Linked DNA regions of Homo sapiens: all the other regions are linked to region 1. The links are contacts of gene promoters, found by promoter capture Hi-C in blood cells and fetal thymus (Javierre and others, 2016). All regions are on one chromosome and are shown on one strand. The core of a region is centred on a gene start or on the middle of the fragment in contact, and the rest is flanking DNA. Distances in the headings are between cores, read along the strand shown.

Evidence for each region. The method cuts DNA at HindIII sites, captures the fragments that hold promoters and counts their contacts. A CHiCAGO score of 5 or more calls a contact.
Region 2: a fragment that was not itself captured here is called in contact with the fragment with the promoter of ASB15-AS1 in region 1 in 1 of 17 cell types (fetal thymus); the score reaches 5.7 in fetal thymus.
Region 3: a fragment that was not itself captured here is called in contact with the fragment with the promoter of ASB15-AS1 in region 1 in 3 of 17 cell types (M2 macrophages, fetal thymus and naive CD8 T cells); the score reaches 5.3 in M2 macrophages.

Annotation. Positions count from the first base shown.
Region 1 is chr7:123,622,358-123,627,095 of GRCh38, forward strand. It overlaps ASB15-AS1 (ASB15 antisense RNA 1), which reads right to left and starts at 2,600. Exons shown (of 5, transcript NR_111922.1): 1 at 2,539-2,600; 2 at 617-803. It overlaps ASB15 (ankyrin repeat and SOCS box containing 15), which reads left to right. Exons shown (of 12, transcript NM_001290258.2): 8 at 2,212-2,457. The HindIII fragment of the contact is 15,446 bases long and covers 1-4,738 here.
Region 2 is chr7:123,902,313-123,907,050 of GRCh38, forward strand. No RefSeq gene overlaps it. Among named protein-coding and RNA genes, the nearest start is that of SPAM1, 21 kb to the right of the region's middle. The HindIII fragment of the contact is 275 bases long and covers 1,734-2,008 here.
Region 3 is chr7:123,880,899-123,885,636 of GRCh38, forward strand. No RefSeq gene overlaps it. Among named protein-coding and RNA genes, the nearest start is that of HYAL4, 38 kb to the left of the region's middle. The HindIII fragment of the contact is 9,096 bases long and covers 1-4,738 here.

The DNA of each region.
Region 1 (4,738 bases), core at 1,350-3,849:
TTACACCAATACTGTGCTTTATGAGTTTTCATTATTTCAGTCATTTATTGGTTAAGAATGTCTTCATGAGTTAGCTTGGAAGGGATTTCCTACCATTTGCATTATTATTTCTATGGGAAATACATTCTTGATTTCAAAAAATTAAATTGGAAGTGAAGTTTTGATTTTTTAAAAACTATCTTAAGTTGAAGATGGCCCATTTATGCAGTTATTTTCATGAAGAGAAACTATTTTAATCCATATGTTTTCTGAGTCAGACAAAAGGTAAAAAGATTATGAGGGAACAGGCTCATTATTTTAATACATTTTTTTTCTAATTATAAAAACTGCCATCAGAGCAAGAAGATCCATGAGGACACATTTCTCTTAGTTTGTTTAGCTTACTTGATGTTTGCTCTGCAATAACACCAGCTAGCATGAGGTAATTCACTGTAATTAGAGCTGCCAGTGACAGTTGGGCAATTCAGAGAGAGGCATTTGTCAACAGGTTCTACTTTAGACAAGGAGAGGGAGAAAAACGGGCATCTCCTGCAGGGATGGCTTGCCTGCTCCCAAATGAAGTAGGCAAAGTTCGTCTTCATCCTCCCATTACCACATTGGGAGCTGCTTTCCTTGCCTTGGCTTTAGATCCTTTCTGCGTTCTGCCTCCTGGTTACCCCAGAATGTTCCATGTGGCCTCATATCTTCTTCTACGTTTCCCAGTACAGGCCCAGACTTTGAGTCTCTCTTTAAATAGAAGGCAGCATAGGCTTCTTCTCTAGGCCATAAACTCTACGAGTGAGATCCAAATCTGTCTCTTCTTCCTGTTGTCCACAGTGCATAACACAGAGCCTTTAGTGGAGCTAGCCGTATTAACTGAATAGGAAATGAGTGAGTGAATGAATGAATGAGTGAATGTAACTGTGTACATCTCCATTTGTAGGGGCAGCACTCATCCTAATCTGTATTTTAATAAGATTTTACTTAAAAGGAAAAAAAAGTTACATTTTTAGAAGTGTATACATCTAAATGGGGACAATCTCTTAATAATCCAAAAGGGGAAAACCTTGTAACAGTATAATTTCAGCCATTAGAGATGAGCAGAGAGGGAGAGGGACAACTGATTTGGTGAACCTCCTTAATTGTACTACATTAACGGTCACTTACTTCACTCACTGGGAACAGTTGGCCTATGTAGATTCTAAACAATCTAATTGATAATCACCCATTAAAAATGTAAGAAAGAGGGCCGGGCGTGGTAGCTCACACCTGTAATCCAAGCACTTTAGGAGGCCAAGGCGGGCAGATCACGAGGTCAGGAGTTTGAGACCAGCCTGACCAACACGGTGAAACCCTGTCTCTACTAAAAATACAAAAATTAGCCAGACTTGGTGGTATGCGCCTGTAATTCCAGCTACTCAGGAGGCTGAGGCAGGAGAATTGCTTGAACCCAGGAGGTGGAGGTTGCAGTGAGCTGAGATTGTGCCATCGCACTCCAGCCTGAGCGACAGAGCGAGACTCTGTCTCAAAAAAAAAAAAAGAAAAGAAAAGAAGAAAGAAAGAATGGAAGGAAGGAAGGAAGGAAGAAAGAAAGAAAAGAAAGAAAGAAAGAAAGAAAGAAAGAAAGAAAGAAAGAAAGAAAGAAAGAAAGAAAGAAAGAGAAAGGAAAGAAAATACATATATAAGAAAGAGAAGTTCATTCAATACTTGCTGCTATCTTTTGCGGCAAGGGGAAAAAACCCTGTTTCTATAGGGGAAACCTGATGAACATGATTTACATATGAGGTTCCTGGGTCCTAGGAGTGATATAATAATAATAGCCAGTTACTGAGCTCCTGTTATGTACTAGGTACTACACTGAGAATTTTACATACATTATTTAATTTGTACAACCCAACAACAAGTGTTATTTCCATTTTGTTGGTGAAGAAATTAAAATTTGGAAAGAGGGCACACAGCATCCTATCCTAGTGATACGTGTTATTTTCTGTGAAACTCTTACCCCTCCTCCAGGTCTTAAAGAAAAGGTAGTGTCATCTTGTAAACTTATATTTCACAAATATAAACTTGGGTATGAGAAACAGAAGGGATATGAGAAATACATTATTTTCCTTGTAGAAAAAAAGTTACTAGCTAGTATCTATTTCAATATTAAATTTAGTAATTAGTTTAATACCACCTAAGGTATTTGTGTTAATATACTTACTGTTGTTTTTAACAATCATTTTCAAGCTGTGAAAAAGGGCTCCTATGACATGGTGTCGACTCTGATCAAACATAACACTAGCCTAGACCAGCCCTGTGTCAAGCGATGGTCAGCAATGCATGAAGCAGCCAAGCAAGGCCGAAAAGATATCGTAGCTCTGCTGCTGAAACATGGAGGCAATGTCCACCTGAGAGATGGATTTGGAGTCACACCACTAGGCGTCGCTGCCGAGTATGGTCACTGTGACGTGTTAGAACATCTAATCCACAAAGGTATGTGAAAAGGAGTTACACTTCCTGACTTTTGTCCTGCCTCTCGAACTCTCCTTTTCTCCATTCATCACTCTTCCTCACCTGAATGTAACTAGGGGAGCTCCTCTTCCTCTGCTGAATGGAACTTGGCATCAGGTTTTCCCACCTGGTCCCTCAGTAGACCCTTATTCTACAACTCAGCTAAGCCCTATACATTGTGACCTACGAATTTACAAGCCCAGTCCTGATTGCTCTCTCGAGAGACAGTTCAATCTGCACATAGATGGCCCATCAGGGCCTCATGCTCATCTTCTCCTTAACTGAATTCCTCCTGTTTTTCTACTCTTCTAATGTAATAATTTCTCTCAACAGGATTGAAAGATCGTATTTATCTCTAATTCCTCCATCACCTGCTTTCCTAAATCCAATCAGTTGCAAATTCTTGTAGCGTTTCTCTTGTCCTCTCATTGCAATCCATCTGCCATCCTGATCAGGTCCCTCAATTCTCCCTGGACCAGTGCAAATAGTTTCTAACCATTTTCTGGGTTTCTAGTCTCCCATCAGAGAATCACAGTACATACTGCAACTTGGCTCCTCTCCCTATAGGGCAGCTACAATAGTGTCAACTATCCAAAAAACAATCCCTATTGCATCATCTCAAATTGTTTTACCACGTTTATCCCTCACTGCTCCCATCTTGTATCCTACACTCCAGTCAAAATATACTAGCAGTATTCCCAAACGTACCTTGCAGGGTTTGGGTCAGGTCCTTGCCTTTATCTCTTCAGCACAATTCAAAGTCAATCTCTTGAGACACCTCCTCCCTAAATCCTTTCCTAATTCTTTCCAACAGATTGTGACACTGCCCTTTCTTAAACCCTCCAGGTGTTTTATACAACTACAGAACCATGAGTTAAGGAGACCTGACTCCTAAACTGGTTGAGCCACTACTCACTGTGAGACCCTAGCCTTATTCCTTAAATATCTGGTCCTCAGCGTCCTCATCTGCAAATGACCTCTAGAACCGCATGATCCCCAGTGATTCCCTGTAGGAAAAAGACTAACATTTTTGAGGTGTCCCAATACAACCACGTTTAATTTTCAAATAAGCCCTGTGAAGTAAGCTGTATTAATCATTCACAGATGTGGAGATGGAGGTGCACGGAAGTAAACGGCTTGCCCCCAGCTCTCACCATAAGCAGCAGAGCCACAGTCCCCTACATCATGTCTCCTTGTCTTAATGTCAGTGTCACTGGAATATCATACAGTTTGTGCTGTCTGATATTTTGTTTCATTTCCCCTCTAAGCTCCTTAGAGTAGTCACACTTATTCTTCTTAGGGTCACACACACTGATTGCACATAGAGGGCAATAAAGTATTTGTTAATACTTTATTAACTGTAAGTATTTGTTAAGTTAAAATAGAGGGGGCCGGGCACCATGGCTCATGCCTGTAATCCCAGCATTTTGGAAGGCCAAGGTGGGTAGATTACTTAAGGCCTAGAGTTCAAGACCAGCCTGGCCAACATGGCGAAACCCTGTGGTGGCACATGCCTGCAATCCCAGCTACTCAGGAGACTGAGGCAGAAGAACTGCTTAAACCCAGGAGGCGGAGGCTGCAGTGAGCTGAGATCACACCACCGCACTCCAGCCTGGTCGACAGAGTGAGATTCTGTCAACATAAATAAATAAATAAATAAATAAAATAAGAAACTACTGTCTTTAAATTAAAAAGTCTAATGAGCCTTTTTCAGAAGAATTTGCCTGTCATGAAAATTGACTTAGTTTCTCTCATGATTTTTGGCCCAAAGATTTTAATAAAACAAACCATGCTGCATGCATGACTGTTTATTGAAAGTATAGAAAACATGGAGGCCCTTAATTCTATACTTTTTAAGTACTAACCAGAAAGGAACACAACAGGTTTTGTGGGGGTTTTTTGTTTGTTTGTTTCTTTGTTTTTGAGATGGAGTCTCACTCTGTTGCCCATTCTGGAGTGCAGTGGAGTGATCTCGGCTCATCACAACCTCCACCTCCCAGGTTCAAATGATTCTCCTGCTTCAGACTCCTGGGTAGCTGGGACTACAGGTGCACGCCACCGTGCCCAGCTAATTTTTGTATTTTTAGTTGAGACAGGGTTTCACCATGTTAGCCAGGCTGATCTCGAACTCCTGACCTCATGATCCGCCCGCCTCAGCCTCCAGTGCTGGGATTACAGGTGTGAGCCACCATGCCCAGCCCCACAACAGGCTGTTTTTAAGGGGATTGTTTAAACAATACCATCCAGTTATCATTATGCCACG
Region 2 (4,738 bases), core at 621-3,120, 280 kb after region 1:
GATTGCAACTTTAACTAAAAATGCTTCTGATTAAAAAAAAAAACTAGCTCATAAACCACTCCAGACAACTATCTTTATCTTTTGCATCCATAAAAATGTCTCTGAACTTAATACTTGTTTGCCTACACAATATAGAGGCCTTACTTTAATAGAAACCTACCTATAACATCATCATCTAAAATGAGACACAGCTGTTTAAGAAAATTATTCTCAGAACTAAGAGACTGATTCAAGATCTCAGATCATGTAGTTCAATTTGTTCTTTCAACTGGTTCTATATTGTCTCCCGTGTGCTAGGGTGCTTTTGCATTGCTTTAAAGGAATATCTGAGATTGGGTAATTTATAAAGAAAAGAGGTTTATTTGGCCAACAGTGTTGCAGGCTGTACATGGCACTGGCATCTCCTTGGCTTCTGGGGAGGCCTTAGGGAGTTTTTACTTATGGCAGAAGGTGAAGCAGGAGCAGGCACATCACAGGGCAAGAGAAGGAGCAAGAGAGTAAGGGGGAAGATGCCACACTCTTTTAAACATCCAGATCTCATGAGAACTCACTCAGTAGTGCAAGGACAGAACCAAGAGGATGGTGCCAAGCTAATAATGAGAAATCTGCCCCAGTGATCCAATCACTTCCCAAAAGGCCCCACCTCCAACATTGGTGATTATAATTCAATATGAGATTTAGAAAGGATAACATCCAAACTATATCATTCTGCCCTAGGCCCTCAAATCTCAAGTCTTTATGACATTTCAAAATACAATCATTCCTTCTCAATAGCCCTCCAAAGTCTTAACTCATCCCCGCATTAACTCAAAAGTCTGAAGTCCAAAATCTCATCTGAGACTCAAGGCATGTTCCTTCCACCTATGCATCTGTAAATAAAACAAACAAACAAACAAAAAACGAGTATTTTACTTTCAAGATACAATGGCGATATGGGCATTGGGTAAACATTACCATTCTAAAAGGAAGAAATTGGCCAAAAGAAAGGAGCTACAGGCTTCACAGAAGTCTGAAACCCAGCAGAGCAATCATTAAATCTTAAAGCTCCAAAATAGCCTTCTATGACTCCATGTCTCACATCCAGTGCACAGTGGTGCAAGAGGTGGGCTCCCAATGCCTTGGGCAGCTCTACTTCTTGGCTTTTCTAGGCTCAGGATGCAAGCTGCTGTTGGATCTATTATTCTAGGGTCTGGAAGGTGACAGCCCACCTCCCATAGTTCCACTAGCCAGTGCCCCATTGGGGACTCTGTGTGGGGGCTGCAACCCTATCTTTCCCCTTGGCACCACCCTTGTAGAGTATTTCTATGAAGGCTATGCCCCTGCAACAGGTTTCTTCCTGGAAACCCAGGTTTGTTTTTTTTTTTACATCCTCTGAAATCTATGTGGAGGCTGCCAATGCTCCTTCACTCTTGTATTCTGAGTTCCTATTAACATCATATGAAAACTGCCAAGGCTGACAGCTTGCACCTTCCAGAGCTGTGGTCCATGCTATACCTGGGGCCTTTTGACCCAAGGCTTCAGGATGCAAGAAGCAGCCTGCTGTGGTGGTGCAGGGTGGTAGTACCCCAGGGCCAGCCCACAAAACCATTCAGTCCTCCTAAGCCTCTGAGACAGTGATGGGAGGGGCTGCCTAGAAAATCTCTGAAATACTTTCAAGGCCTTTTCCCATTGTCTTGTCTGTTAACACTTGGCTTCTTTTAGTCACGCAAATCTCTAGCAACTGGTTGCTCCAAAGCTTGCCTGATTTCCTCTCCTGTTAATGCTTTTTGTTTTACTCTGCCACATGGCCAGCCAGCAAATTTTCCAAACTTTTACACTCTGCTTCCCCTTTAAATATAAATTCAAACTTTTAGGCATTTCTTTGCTCCTGCATCTGAGCATATGTTGTTAGAAGTAGGTCATATCTTGAATGCTTTTCTGTTTAGAAATTTCTTCCACCAGATACCCTAAGTCATCATTCTTAAGTTCAAACTTCTACAGATCCCTAGGCATGAGTAGAATGCAGCAAAGCTTTTTGCTAAGACATACCATAGCTGACCTTTGCTCCATTTCCCAGTAAGTTCCTTATTTTCATCTGAGACCTTGTCAGCCTGGACTTCACTGTCCATATCAGCATCAGCATTTTGGTCAAAACCATTTAACCAGTCTCTAAGAAGTTCCAAACTTTCCATCATGTTCCTGTCTTCTCTGAGCTCTCCAAACTCTGCCAACCACTGTTTATTACCCAGTTCTAAAGATGCTTCCATATTTTTAGGTATGTTTGTAGCAGTTCCCCACTCCTCAGTACCAAATTTCTGTGATAGGCTGTATTAGTCCATTCTCCCATTGCTATAAAGAAATACCTGAGACTAGGTAATTTATAAAGAAAAATAGGTTTAATCAGCTCACAGTTCCACAGGCTGTACAGGAAACATAATGCTGGCATCTGTTTGGCTTCTGAGGAAGCTTCAGGAAACTTACAATAATGATGAAAGGTGAAAAGGAGCCCACACTTCACATGGCCAGAGCAGGAGGAAGAGAAAGGTAGGGAGATGCCACACACTTTTAAACAACCAGATTTCATGAGAACTCCATCATGAGAATAGCACCAAAGGGATGGTGCTAAACCACTCATGAAGGATGCACCCCCATGATCTAATCAACTCCCACCAGGTTCCACCTCCAACATTGGGGATTACAATTTCACATGAGATTTGGGTGGAGACACAGATCCAAACCATATCATTCCACCTTGGTTGCTGCCAAATCTCATGTCCTTTTCACTTCGTAAAATCCCAACATCCCCCAAAGTCATAACTCATTCCAGCATTAATTCAAAAGTCCAAAGTCCAAAGTCTCATCTGAGACAAAGCTAGTCCCTTCTGCTGATGAGCCAGTAAGATAAAAAACAAGTTAGTTACACCCAAGATACAATGGGGGTATAGGCATTGGGAAAATAATCTCATTCCAAAAGGGAGAAATTGGCCAAACAAAGGGGGCTGCAGATCTCATGCAAGTCCAAAATCCAGCAGGGCAGTCATTAAATCTTAAAGGTTCAAAGTAATTTCCTTTGACTGCACATCCCATATTCAGGACACACAGATGCAAGGGGTGGGCTCCCAAGGTCTTGGGCAGCTCTGCCCCTGTGGCTTTGTAGGGTTTAGCTCCCATGGTTGCTCTCAAAGGCTAGTGTTGAGTGCCTGTGGCTTTTCTGGGCACATGGTGCAAGCTGCCAGTGGATCTACCATTCTGGGGTCTGGAGGCTGTGGTGGCCCTCTTCTCACAGCTCCAACCGCTCATTTCCCCTCCACACAACCTAGTAGAGGTTCTTCCTAAGGGCTCCATCCCTGCAGCAGGCTTCTGTCTTAACACCCAGGCTTTTTTATACATCCTCTGAAATGTAGGCAGTAGCTCCCAAGCCTCAACTTTTGCACTCTGTGTACCCACAGGCTTAACACCATGTGGAAGCTGCCAAAGTTTATGGCTTTCACCCTCTGAAGAAGTGGCCCAACTGTACCTGAACCTCTTTGAGCCATGGCTGGAACTGGAGCAGCCAGGATGCAGAGTGGTCTCCTGAGCCTGCACAGGGTAGGTAGTGGGGCCTTAGGCTTGGCCCACAAAACCATTCTTCCCTCCTAGGCCTCTGGGCCTGTGATAGCAGTGGCTACCTCAAAATTCTCTGAGATGCCTTCCAGGTCTTCTCCCCATTGTCTTGGCAATTAGCACTTGCCTTCCTTTTAGTTATGCAAATTTCTACAGCCTGCTTGACTTCCTTCCCTTAAAATGGGCTTTTCTTTTCTACCACCTGGCCAGGCTGCAAATTTTCCAAACTTTTACACTCTGTTTCTATTTTAAATATAACTTCCAGTTTCAGGTTATTTCTTTGCTCACACATATGAGCATATGTTGTTAGAAGCAGCATCTTGAATGCTTTGCTACTTAAAAATTTTTTCTGTCAGATTCCCTAAATCATCACTGTCAAGTTCAAAGTTTCACAGATCCCTACAGCAGGGGCACAATGCCACCATGTTCTTTGCTAACACATAGCAAAAATAATCTTTGCTCCAGTTCCCAATAAGTTTCTCATTTCCATCTGAGACTTCCTCAGCCTGGACTTTACTGTTCATATCACTATCAGCATTTTGGTCAAAACCATTCAACAAATCTCTAGGAAGTTCCACGCTTCCCCTCATCTTCCTGTCTTCTTCCAAGCCCTCCGCACTGTTCCAACCTCTGCCTGTTACCCAGTTCTAAAGTCACCTCCATATTTTCAGGTATCTTTACAGTTATGTCCCACTCCTTGGTATTAATTTTCTGTATTAGTCAGTTCTCACACTGCTATAAATAAATACCTGAGATATAAAGAAGTTTAATTGGCTCACAGTTCTGTAGGCTGTGCAGAAAGCATGATGTTGCTTTCTGGGGAAGCCTGAGGAAACTTACAATCATCTTGAAAGGTAAAAGGGAGCCCATACCTCACATGGCCAGAGCAGCAGGAAGAGATAGATGAGGAGGTGCCACACACTTTTAAACAACCAGATATGAGAACTCCATCATGAGAACCATACTCAGGGGATGGTGCTAAACCATTCATGAAGAATGCACCCCCATGACCCAATCATCTACCACCAGGCTCCACCTCCAACACTGGGATTACAATTCAACATGAGATTTTGGTAGGGACACAGATCCAAACCATATCATAAGCCGTTCTTGCATTGCCATAAAGGAATACCTGAGAGTTGGTAATTTACAAAGA
Region 3 (4,738 bases), core at 1,646-4,145, 260 kb after region 1:
TCAAAAGCACCCTTGAGTCAACTTAAAAGAGCCTCCCACTGTCAAACATGTGAAATTTGAAAATCACTGAAGAAATACTAACTGCAATGGGTTGAAATACATCAGATATATTTAAATCCATGAAGTCAAAATGATACTAAAACAAACCCAAAAATCTTTCATTGGCCACTTTTGAACAATATTAAGGAATCAACTCATTACTCTGAAAACTGATAATCAATCATTTATTCTGCATTTCCTACATAATCTGTACTTGAGGGTAACCAAATAGTGAAGGAGAGTAATTTCTTTTTATTCAAGCCAATAAACGGGGAAAGTATGATGTAATTAGAATAGAACAATTTTGTAACTTCTAATTAATGGATAGAGGCATTGACCCTCAATAGCTGCTAAAATCACAAAAAAGAGTCAACCAGACAATTATATACCACCTAGTTGAAGTATGAAACATCAACTAAGAATAATCCTTCCAGAAATCAAGCTGAAATTTGATCAGGCCTTTAAAATTTAGCTACTTCCGATGTTTTCAGCATGGTTTGGGAAAAAAAAATCTATCTACTAACTCAAGAAACATAAAGAATAAGGGAAAATGCTAAACAAGAAGTTAGAGATGACATCATCAAAATTTAGATCCTAGGGAATTCTACAGGACAAATAACTTGAATTTATCAACAAATAAGAAAAAAATGGCGAAGGAATCCATATGTATATCAACATGGAGCTTGCTAAATTATAGTACATCTGCATATTGGGGAAGTATTCAATTTTACAAAGAAATGAGGAATAACATCTCTATGCTAATCTCAAAAGATATCTAAAAATTATTTTGTTTAGACTTTATTTTGACTGCCATCTAATCATATTGAGAAAAACTCATGATCTCAGATATTAGAAATATATTTTTGGTCACATTCTAGAAAGACTTCCTGGAGACAGCTAAACTAAAGTTTCTTAAGCATGTACTGGGCCTGAAATTCTAAGGGTCTTAAGAATGTACTGGGTTTGAAATTCTATTACAGATAAAAAGCCATAAATGATTCAAGGAAATGATAATTTCATCAATAAAAGGAAACCAGGAGAAGCCATTTGAAGCCACACACAACAAATATAAAATCATATATGGTGCTGTTATTGTTTTTGAGATTTTGCTTATTCTAAACCTTGAACAGCAGGTCTGTTACAATATTATAATTATAAACTTATATGATAAAGATTTAATAATTGGAAAAATTAATTTTGTGCCAAAATGAATGTTAGTATTATGGTTTTCATTCCTACCAGAGAACTAAGTACATACAGACACTCTTACTTTTGTATTTAATGCTGATCTTAAGAACTTGGAAAAATCTGAATGTTACTGAAAATTCATATATGAACTGGACACTTTGTTCCCTCCTAAGGGCCCAGGAGCTATCAATTTTTTATTTCTAGTATCACTTCAATTGTACAAACTTAAAATGGGAGACTTTGTTCTCTGTTTCTGGAAAATGAAAGTTCTTGGGTTATCACTGGGACTACTTATTGCATTCGGCATTCTCTTCCACTAAGATACCTAGCATAGTGGTTAATTGTATGTGTCAACTTGACTGAGCCATAGACTGTGTTTATTCTGAGCGTGTCTGTGAGGGCGTTTTGGAATGAGGTTAACATTTACACGAGAAGACTGAGTAAAGCAGATTGTCCTCCCCAGTGTGGTGGGCCTCATCCAATCTGTTGAAGGCCTGAACAAAGGCAGTGTAAGGGAGACTTAAGCTCTGTGTTTGAGCTGAGACATTGGTCTTTTCCTGTCTTCAGACTCAGACACAGACTGAAGTTATGCCATCAGCCCACCTAATCCTCAGTCCTGTATCATTGAGTCTCCTGAACCTCCAGCTTTCCAACTACAGATCTTGGAACTTCTCAGCCTCCATAACTGTGAACCCATTTATTAGAGTAAATCTCTCTCTCTCTTTCTCTCTGATAAACACACACACACACACACACACACACACACACACACACACACACACTATTGGTTCTGTTTCTCGGGAGAATGCAGACTAATACACCAAGAAAAGTAATTTTCTGCTGTCAAATTTATTGCTATCCACAAAAGACAACAAGTGTTGCCAAGAATGTGGAGAAATTGGGGCCCTTGCTTATTGTTGGTGAGAATGAAAAATGAGGCAGCCACTAGGGTAAACAGTATGGAAGTTCCTAAAAAAAATTAAAAATAGAACTACCATATGATCTAGCAATCCCTCTTCCGAGTATTTTCCTAAAAGAATTGAAATCAGGATCTCAAAGAGATATAAGCCTCCCTGTGTTAACTGAAGTACTATTTACAATAGACAATATGTAGAGATAACCTAAAACTGTATCAACTTCTCATTACTCAGAATATGTACTTTCCAAAATGATTTATAAATATGACATTCATTATTGAAATATGTGCAGGAGTTAGAAAAACTGGATAATTGAGTTGAGCACATTATCAAGCATTTACTTTGTTTCTTGATGTAAGAGATACTTCTGATAGTTCTGATCAACAACATGTGTGTTTTTTTTAAGATATAAAACTTTGTCTAATGGCACCACATCAGCAGAGACTTTCTGCTTCTATTTTTTCCTAATGTTATGATTGTTAACTAGCATTTACCATCTAATAAGCTATTAATGTGTCACTGATTCGCACAGAAAAACCAGACTCATTTATTACTAAAACGATTGTAATCAGTATACCAAAATAACTGACTTCATTGCTTTCTATATTCAAGATCAAAGTGTTGTCTTATTTTTGAGTTTTCTTTGTGGAACCAAAATGCTAATTTATTCCTTATAAAGGCTTCAGTGTCAAAGGAGATTGCGTGTTTGAATGAAAATAGACGTATACTTCCTTTTAAGGAACTAAATAATGAAAAAGTTGAATAAGACCACTCTAGAGAAATTAATACTATAAATTTTGCTATACCCTCATAGGCCAAAGTCCTCAAAAATAGTTAATCTATCAGAAAGATATAACAATTCTAAGCATATGTACACTTAATATCAGATAACCAGAATATATGAAGCAATACTGACAGAAATGAAGGGAGATATATACAATTCAACAATCAAACAATCATAGATGGAGACTTAAATAATGAATAGAATGGCTAGGCAGAAGATAACTAGAAAACAAAATACTTCAACATTATAAACAAACTTGATGTAACAGCCATCTATAGAAAATTCCACCCAAATAAAAAAAGAATATGCGTTCTTCTCAAGTACACATAGAACATTCTCAAAAACAAACCGAATACTAGACCATAAAACAAATCTCAATAAATGTAAAAGTATAGAAGTAATTAAAGTATGTTCTCCAGTCACAATGGAATGATGTTAGAAATAAGTAGCATAAATTAATTTGGGAAACTCACAAATATGTGAAAATTGAACAACACACTCCTAAATAATCAGTGGGTTAAAGACATATCCCAAGAGAAATTGGAAAATACTTCAAGACAAATAAAAATCAAGACACAACATATGAAAACTTGTGTAATGCTGCTTAAGTAGTGCTGAGAGGAAAATTTGTAACTATAAATATCCATATTTTATAAACAAGATCTCAAATGAATAACCTAACCTTCCACTATAAGACAATGGAAAAAGGAGAGTAAGCAAAACTTAAAGCAAGTATTAATAAAAGGAAAAAAAATAAAGATCAGAGTGGAACTTAATGAAATAGAGAATAAAAAACCAGTAGAGAAAATCAAGGAAAACAAAAGCTAGTTCTTTGAAAAGCTAAAACAGAGAAACCTTTAACCAGATTGACATGGGAAAAAGAAGACTCAAATTATAAGAATTAGAAATGAAAGAAGGGCCAGCACAGTGGCTTATGCCTGTAATTCCAGAATTTTGGAAGGCTGAGGTGTGAGGATCACTTGAGCTCAGGAGTTCAAGATGAACCTGGGTAACATAGGGAGATCCCGTCTCTACAAAAAATAAAAAAATTAACCAGGCATGGTATGCACATCTGTGGTCTCAGCTACTTAGGAGGTAGAGGTGGGAGGATTGATTGCTTGAGCCTGGGAGGTTAGGCTGCAGTGAACCATGATCACACCACTGCACTCCAGTCTGGGTGAAAGAGTGAGACCCTGTTTCAGAAAAAAAAAAAAAGAAAGAAAAGAAAAAGAAAATAAATGAAGGAGAAGATATTACCACTTCTCTTACAGAAAAATAAAGAATTATAAAGGAATATTATGAATATTTGTATGCCAATAAGTTAGATAACTTAGACGAAATGGACAAATACCTAGAAAGACACAAGCTATTATTATAAAACTCACTTAATAAGACAATCTCCATAGACATGGAATAAGTAAGAGATTGAATATGTAAAAGCAAAATAAAGCAAAACAAACAAGCAAAACTATACACAAAGAAAAGCTCATGCCCAGATGGTTTCACTGGTGAATTCTATCAAACATTTAAAGAAAAATTAATACCATTTAAAAAGAAAATCTTTCAAAGTATATGAGGGAGGACCACTTTTCAACTTACTCTGTAAAACCAGTATCACACTCATACAAAAACCAGACACAAGCATTACAAAAAATTATAGACCAATATATTTTATGAATATAAATGGAATACTCCTCAACAAAATACTAGCCAACTACATCTAGCAACATTTAAAAAGAATTACACGGCATGATCAAGTAGAGTTTATCACAGGAATGCAAGTGGTTTGTCAGTTAAAAATCAATTGTCA